Linked DNA regions of Homo sapiens: region 2 is linked to region 1. The links are contacts of gene promoters, found by promoter capture Hi-C in blood cells and fetal thymus (Javierre and others, 2016). All regions are on one chromosome and are shown on one strand. Each heading gives the region's core, a stretch centred on a gene start or on the middle of the fragment in contact. The rest is flanking DNA. Distances are from core to core; before and after follow the strand shown. Region 1 holds the start of SLC6A18 (solute carrier family 6 member 18). Region 2 overlaps SLC6A3 (solute carrier family 6 member 3).

Region 1 (3,810 bases), core at 446-2,945:
GGTGTTCTGAGAGTTCCTACGGACAGGTCACCTCTGCTTTCCATAGAAGAATCTGGACGCTTACATTAAACTGATGTTCTGAGAATTCCTACAGGCAGGACTGAAAGCCTGGTGTGTGCCAGTATGATGTTCCACCCACAGAAACCTGGTCACAATCGTCCCTTCCAGCACCCCATCCAGCAGTGACTGCACACACTGAGTCCCCTACCAGCCCCTTTCACCCTGCTGACTGTCACTGGGCCCTGGGATGCGCAAGACTCCACAGCAGCAGAGGTGGGGGGACATATCACAGCCTCTGCCCCCGGCTGTGATGCCACCGAGGGGCTCGCCTGCTGATGGCTTCAACAGGGTCTCACCTCATCTTTTCCTGCTCTTTGGCCCTGGATCGAGAAAATTTCCATCAGTGCCCCATTAATATGCTGCCCTGTGGCATCTGCCCAGGAGGCCCTGCCAGGCGTGCACAGGTGTGCATTGGTGTACCCTGGCATGCACAGGTGTGCACTGATGTGCCCTGGCATCCATTGGTGTACCCTGGTGTGCCTGCCATAGGACCCTGGGCGGGAGCTCCCATCTCATCTACATCTCCTGATTCATGCGTTGTTTCATAGGTTTCAATGTCTCTGTAAATGTGGTAGAAATGCAGGCTTTATGGGCATAAAGTGTACATTTCTAAATAAATCCCTTCTATTGAGTATGCTCACCCTAGAAGTTACTGTTGTCCAGACGTAGAGGGATGAGTGAGCCAGTGACCTCAGACGGGATGGTGGGGACGGCAGGTCCAGCTCCTGCCTCCTCCTGGGGGGTCTGGCTTTGGGGGCTTGCTCCGAAGAGGCCATGGCCCAGGCCTGTGGCCTCACAATGGGGACCAACCAGCTCTTCTCATCTTCTTCCCTCACACTTCCTCTCACTCAAATAAGAACCTTCCAAAAATGTGTCCACCTGGGCCCCTGCCCTGGGACTCATGGATTTGGAGTTGTGGCCACACGGTTGAGGGGTGCAGTGTCCAGTGGAATGGGGCAATTGCGGGCCTGGGGGCCCTTGGCCTGTCCGTGGCGGGAGCATCTGCAAGGAGGAGCCCCAGAGTCCAGGGAGCACTGTGGGGAGCTCCTTAGAGCTGAACTCACCCGGCGTCAACTCATCAACCCTCCACCCATGGACAGGGGTGCCCCCAGCACAGGAGAGGACTCAGCCCTCTGCCCCCACGCACGGTGGGTGCCTGTCACCCTGTCCTGCCCAGCGGCCCGAGGGCAGCAGTGGGTGTGAGGGCAGCCCCCGGCCTCCCAAGAGCAGCTGAGAGGATCCCTGCGGGAATCCGGGCTTCGGGTGCATGCGATCTGATCTGAGTTGTTTCTGACAGTGACAGAGTGACAATCTATAAGTATCTCAAGATCAAATGGTTAAATAAAACATAAGAAATTTAAAACGATTAAAATATGCCTCAGTCTTGGGAATCCTGGTGTCTGCAACAAAAAAACTTGAGGCTGTCCTTGCAAACGGTCCTCATGGTGCTGGGGGTGGTGCCAGGCCCGGCGTTTGCCTGGAACACAGAGCATGCGAGAAGGAGCAGAGGACGTGGGTGCCAGGGAAGGACCCTGGCGTCAGAGCCAGGGCCTGGACCTGAGTTACCCATTAACGGCACTCCACTGGTTTTCCTTTAAAGAAATGAATAAATACAACTGCAGTGGGGCTGCTTGTGGTTTCCAAACGTCGGCAGAGGCTGGAGACGGCTCTCTAGTGCTGGGTGTGGAGTGAGGCACCACCCTTGCCCTGAAGCCTGGGGCACTCAGTCACCATGGCTCATGCCCCAGAACCGGACCCGGCCGCCTGCGACCTCGGGGATGAGAGGCCCAAGTGGGACAACAAGGCCCAGTACCTCCTGAGCTGCACTGGGTTTGCCGTGGGACTGGGGAACATTTGGCGGTTCCCATACCTGTGCCAGACCTATGGAGGAGGTAAGCACCCACCTGCGTCCTGGGGCAGACCCCTAAGCAGGGGAGGCCGTCTCCACCCTGACCTGCCAGGCGCCTGCCACGCATCCCCAGTGCTTGGGCAGAGTCACTCCTCCTGGAAACCAGGGTGCACCATTGCCCACGGCAGAGTCAGTCCCCTCAGGGCCCACCTGCAGTCTTCTGGGACCTCAGGGCAGCTTCACCACTGCCCACAGCACGGAGGATCCAGTCCCCTCGGGGTCCACTATGGTCTTCCGGGACCTCAGGGCAGCTTCCTGCCAGGCGTCAGGTTGAATGGGCCGCCCTGCCCGACACACACACCCTACAAACAGTGAGCGCTCTTCCATCTGAATGTCGTCAGTTCTTTAAAGAACACACAATCCGCTCTGGGTTTCCTCACCACAGCCTTGGTGTGTCCAGACATGTGCTCAGGTGCCCTTCTCCGAGGTTCTTTGCAGGAATTTGGGGGCCCACCCCTCGCCTCCCTGGCTTTGGTTCTCTGGGAGAGCCCTGTGGGGGGTGCCAGGATGTTCAGAACTGTCTGGGTGACTTTAGTGACCTTGGACTCACCACCCCCAGAAGTGCATTGGTGACTGAAATAGGCTCCCACGCACCTCGAGCCTCCCCTCACCCTGTGCCTGCTTCTCTTCATGCAGGGGTCACACTCTGCTCTCCATGTGGCGACACAGGATGTAGGGACAGGCATGAATCACTGCTCTCAGGGAGCCGACGTACAACATCACGCATGGACACCCAGGTCTTCCCCAGGCAACACGGGCAGGGGCTTCCCAGGCCGCAGGGTCCTCCTCAGGCCAGGCCGGGCTGCTTGGTCAGCCTGTTCCCCGGGCCCTCAGCTCCTTCCCTGAGAGCCCCGCACAACTATCCCTTGTTATAAGGTTACTCCTTTAAAGTGTTTTTCCTCCTGCTTAAGAAAAGATTCTCAACAGGCAGAAAATGCAGGAAATGCGCACAAATGGAAAAAACAAAAAGAAACACCCGTCACTGCCACCCTCGGGGCACTGGGGTCTCTTTGGGGCTTTGGGGCTGGAGAGGGTGCATTGGGCCTTGGATCTTCTCATCATGAGAGTCCCTTTGAAGGCATTTCTGAAAGCACCAAAGCCCAAGGGCAGAGGCGTCCCTGGCTCCCGGGGCCCTCGCTGCCTGTGCTGCGGCTCGATCTGCTAAGAGTCACCAGAGCATGCAAGGTTGTGGGGGCAGCAGGCTTCACGCAGAGCTGGAAATGCCGGCCAACGCTTTACCCACCAACGCCTTGTTCGCCAATGCCTTGCCCACCGATGCCTTTCCTGCTGATGCCTTGCCCAACGCCTTGCCCACCGACGCCTTGCCCACCGATGCCTTGCCCACCGATGCCTTGCCCGCCGACGCGCCCAACGCCTTGCCCGCCGACGCCTTGCCCGCCGACACCTTGCCCGCCGACCCCTTGCCCGCCGACGCCTTGCCCGCCGACGCCTTGCCCGCCGACGCCTTGCCCGTCGATGCCTTGCCCGCCGATGACTTGCCCGCCGATGCCTTGCCCGCCGATGCCTTGCCCACCGAAACCCAGTTACCATTGCTAAGCGCCTGCAGTGTACTGGAAGTGTCTGGCACTAGCCTCCCTTAAACTCAGCTGCTCCACGCTGGGGCAAAGCTGGGGAGGCCCCCACCTGGGGTGCTGCTGAGGAGGGAGAACAGCCCTGCCCGCCAGCTGCGCGGGGACTTCAGGGCTGCTCCACTCATGAACGACTCTACCATCAATCTCCTGATGCAAGCCACCGGGTTGCATGTCATGAAACATCCAAGTTTATTTAACTCACACACTTCCTAAGGGCCGTGCCATCAGCATTCTCACCCTGTGTGTGAA
Region 2 (3,948 bases), core at 726-3,225, 200 kb after region 1:
GTTTGTCTGGCTCCAGCTCTGCACTTGTGGGCCCCCGGCCACAGCTGATTTTGCTGCCCTGGTTGTCCTCCTCTCTCTTCCTTGGCTCCCGTGGGCCACACGCCTGCTGCACCCATGGCTCCTGTCTCCACAGGGCTTCCCCTTCAGTGCTGCAGGCACACTTCCACCCCCACCCCCACCCAACTGCTTTGCAGCCTCATAGGTGCCATGTCCAGGTGCCCTCTCTCACTGCACCTGTCAGCTGCTGCCTCCCTGGGGCTTCCTGGGAGGCTTGCAGCCATGCCCGCCCATCCCTTCTCCCCTTCCTTCCCACTTCTGCCTTGGGTTTACACTTGCCTCATGACCCCCAGACCTGGCTCCACCGGCCCACCCACACAGGGCAGCACCTCTCAACGGCCTCCTGCCTCATACCCCAGCTGAGATGGCCCTTCCCCTCTTGCTGCATTGTCCTCCCACAGCAACATGGATGCCCCTGGGCGGCTTTGGGGCCTGCCACCTCCCCCACTTAGTCCACCTGATTTCCAACGATGCCCCAAGGGAGCTGCCATTTTTGTCATGCCAGCCTTCCGCCAACAGCTGCTTCTGTTTCTGGGCCTGTTTGCCAGGAAGGGTGCAGCCCTTTCTCCTCCCTTTCTGGACAAGGGTCCCATCCCCCATGGCCCAGCTGAGTCTCCTCTCTCCGGGAGGCTTTCTCCAAATATTTTAACCCTGAATTATGTCTTCTTTTGCTGACCAAAGCTGCAGCCTGAGTCTAGATGGAGTTTCTGATGTAATTTGATTTAGATGACTCGTGCTGTATCACAGGTACTTGGGATTTGGCTTCCCGAGGAAAGAACCCTGGTGTCTGCAACTCTGACACCTCTCAGCCCTGGCAGGCAATGCATATGGAAACCTGGGAATGCCAGAGCCCCTGTGGACTGTGAAGCAGTGAGCAGACTGTACTCACAGACGCCTCGCAGAGCCGGTAGAAGTCAACGCTCAGGTATGCTCTGATGCCGTCTATGGCTCCAGGGAGGGTGACCCCACGCAGGAGCAGGGCAGTGAGGACCACGTATGGCATGGTGGCTGTGATCCATACCACCTGCAGGAGAGGACAGTGTCACCAGGCTGCACAGGCAGGGCCCTTGGTGGGAGCAGACACTGGCACAAGGGCACCGGGTTGCCCTGACGGCTTGTCCTCTGATTGGGAGGCCCAATTCCCAAACATTTCCTGGGACGCCAGCTCAGCAAATGCTCCTTGGAGTGAGAAGGTCAGACACTTTCTGTCCTGCACACCCTCCCCAGGGATGGAAAGGGAAGAACAACTTGGCAGGGAAAGCACATTCCTTTTCTGCATTCGGTCCGCCAGAGTAGCTGGGAGTGGCTGATGGGGGTTTTCTGATGCGTGGGACGTGAGTGGATTCACACTGGTGAACGGCACTGTGGCACGATGAAGGGCTGCTCTGGGCTGTGTCCCTGCGGGAGGCTCCCGTGGCTGGTGCCATACTACACGCACTTTTCCAAGGGAGGAGTCGTATCTTGGTCAAAACTGGTTTTGGCCCATATAACAACCAAAGTTTTTTTTTTTTTTTTGAGATGGAGTTTTGCTCTTTTTGCCCAGGCTGGAGTGCAGTGGCATGATCTTGGCTCACTGCAACCTCCGCCTCCTGGGTTCAAGCAATTCTCCTGCCTCAGCCTCCCACGTAGCTGGGATTATAGGCACGTGCCACCGTGCCTGGCTAATTTCGTATTTTTAGTAGAGATGGGGTTTCATCATGTTGGCCAGGCTGTTCTTGAACCCCTGACCTCAGGTGATCTGCCCGTCTCAGCCTCCCAAAGTATTTTTATCAACAAAAAAATCATCTTGTGTGTGCCTTCCTGCCAGAAACACTGCTGTGAGTGCTTCCCTCCTGAGGCCCTTCCCCAAACACAGCCACACGTGGACCCAAAACCCAACTGTGCCGTGTGTCCGCCCAGCCCAGCCACGGCCACGTGTCCCCCCACCCACCCATGGCCGCGCGTCTACCCAAGCCAACCCGGCACAGCCACAGGTGTACCCTCAATCATGGCCACGTGTACACTCCCAACCTGATTATGGCCATATGAGTCTCCCAAACTCAACCATGGCCATGTGTCCACCCCAACCTGGCCATGGCCACATTGGTAGCACAAAACCCAACTGAGGCCACACGTGCACCTCCTGTCCAGCCACGGCCACATGTCCACTTGGTGGCCCCATGTCTACAGGCCCAATTGGTGACCCCCGAGCCTCACCTTCCCTGAGGTCTTCACGCCCTTCCAGAGGCTGAAGTAGAGCAGCACGATGACCAGCACCAGGCAGGCTGTGAGCTGCCACCGCGGAGGCCCCAGGTCGTCGATGCCATGGCTCTGGTGGAGGTGCAGCACGCCACGTCTGCAGAGGGGAGTCAGCGGGGGACTCTGTGGGTGGCTGTCAACCCACCTGGAACTGGACGGCTGAGCTTGTCCGGGGACCTGCCCTCCCCATCTCAGCAGGGCAGAAAGCATCCAGTCTGATGGACAAGAGATGCCTTCCAGGGAGGTCTGGCCCACAGGCCCTGGCAGAGGTGTCAGGGCCGCCCTTGAAACCCGTGGAGCACGTGGGAGGCCCAGGAAGCCCTGCCTCACCATCTGCCCTTGGCACCCCTGCTCACTGGAGCTGCGGAGGCGGAGGGCACCTTGGGTCTTTGAAGAAAAGGAGCCACAGAAACCAAAAGGAAGTTGCTGAGCAATGCTGGGTGCCCACCACTGCCCAGTGCTGCCCAAGGTGCTGGGTGCCCACCGCTGCCCACGGTGCTGCCCACGCTGCTGGGTACCCACCGCTGCCCACAGTGCTGCCCACGCTGCTGGGTGCCCACCGCTGCCCACAGTGCTGCCCACGCTGCTGGGTGCCCACCGCTGCCCACAGTGCTGCCCACGCTGCTGGGTGCCCACCGCTGCCCACAGTGCTGCCCACGCTGCTGGGTACCCACCGCTGCCCAGTGCTGCCCATGGTGCTGGGTGCCCACCGCTGCCCAGTGCTGCCCATGGTGCTGGGTACCCACCGCTGCCCAGTGCTGCCCATGGTGCTGGGTGCCCACCACTGCCCACAGTGCTGCCCACGGTGCTGGGTGCCCACCGCTGCCCAGTGCTGCCCAAGGTGCTGGGTGCCCACCGCTGCCCACAGTGCTGCCCACGGTGCTGGGTACCCACCGCTGCCCACAGTGCTGCCCACGCTGCTGGGTGCCCACTGCTGCCCAGTGCTGCCCATGGTGCTGGGTGCCCACCGCTGCCCACAGTGCTGCCCATGGTGCTGGGTACCCACCGCTGCCCACAGTGCTGCCCACGCTGCTGGGTGCCCACCGCTGCCCACAGTGCTGCCCACGCTGCTGGGTACCCACTGCTGCCCAGTGCTGCCCAAGGTGCTGGGTACCCACCACTGCCCACAGTACTGCCCAAGGTGCTGGGTACCCACCACTGCCCACAGTGCTGCCCACGCTGCTGGGTACCCACTGCTGCCCAGTGCTGCCCACGGTGCTAGGTGCCCACCGCTGCCCACAGTGCTGCCCACGCTGCTGGGTACCCACTGCTGCCCAGTGCTGCCCATGGTGCTGGGTACCCACCGCTGCCCACGGTGCTGCCCATGGTGCTGGGTACCCACTGCTGCCCACAGTGCTGCCCACGGTGCTGGGTACCCACCGCTGCCCAGTGCTGCCCATGGTGCTGGGTACCCACCGCTGCCCACAGTGCTGCCCACGCTGCTGGGTACCCACTGCTGCCCACAAGACAGCCCCAGGGTCCCTCTCCAGGGATGAGGCCGAGCAAACTCTAGCAATAATGCCAGGCACACAGGCACCAGCCAGCACTGTTTTCTGAGGGGATGGCTCACGACACCTGCTCACAGCCCCTGCTGCTATGAGGATTCCACAAGGAACAGATTCAGTGGATGACTCTGCTCCAGCAGGAATCACT

What was found. The method cuts DNA at HindIII sites, captures the fragments that hold promoters and counts their contacts. A CHiCAGO score of 5 or more calls a contact.
Region 2: a contact is called between a fragment that was not itself captured here and the fragment with the promoter of SLC6A18 in region 1, in 3 of 17 cell types (naive CD4 T cells, total CD4 T cells and naive CD8 T cells). The highest score is 6.8, in naive CD4 T cells.

Annotation. Positions count from the first base shown.
Region 1 is chr5:1,223,686-1,227,495 of GRCh38, forward strand. It overlaps SLC6A18 (solute carrier family 6 member 18), which reads left to right and starts at 1,696. Exons shown (of 12, transcript NM_182632.3): 1 at 1,696-1,952. The coding sequence starts at 1,793. SLC6A19 (solute carrier family 6 member 19) reads left to right here. Exons shown (of 12, transcript NM_001003841.3): 12 at 1-1,426. RefSeq lists an enhancer at 2,090-2,632. The HindIII fragment of the contact is 4,471 bases long and covers 1-3,810 here.
Region 2 is chr5:1,419,623-1,423,570 of GRCh38, forward strand. It overlaps SLC6A3 (solute carrier family 6 member 3), which reads right to left. Exons shown (of 15, transcript NM_001044.5): 5 at 2,254-2,392; 6 at 947-1,081. Among named protein-coding and RNA genes, the nearest start is that of SLC6A3, 24 kb to the right of the region's middle. RefSeq lists an enhancer at 3,048-3,573. The HindIII fragment of the contact is 7,423 bases long and covers 1-3,948 here.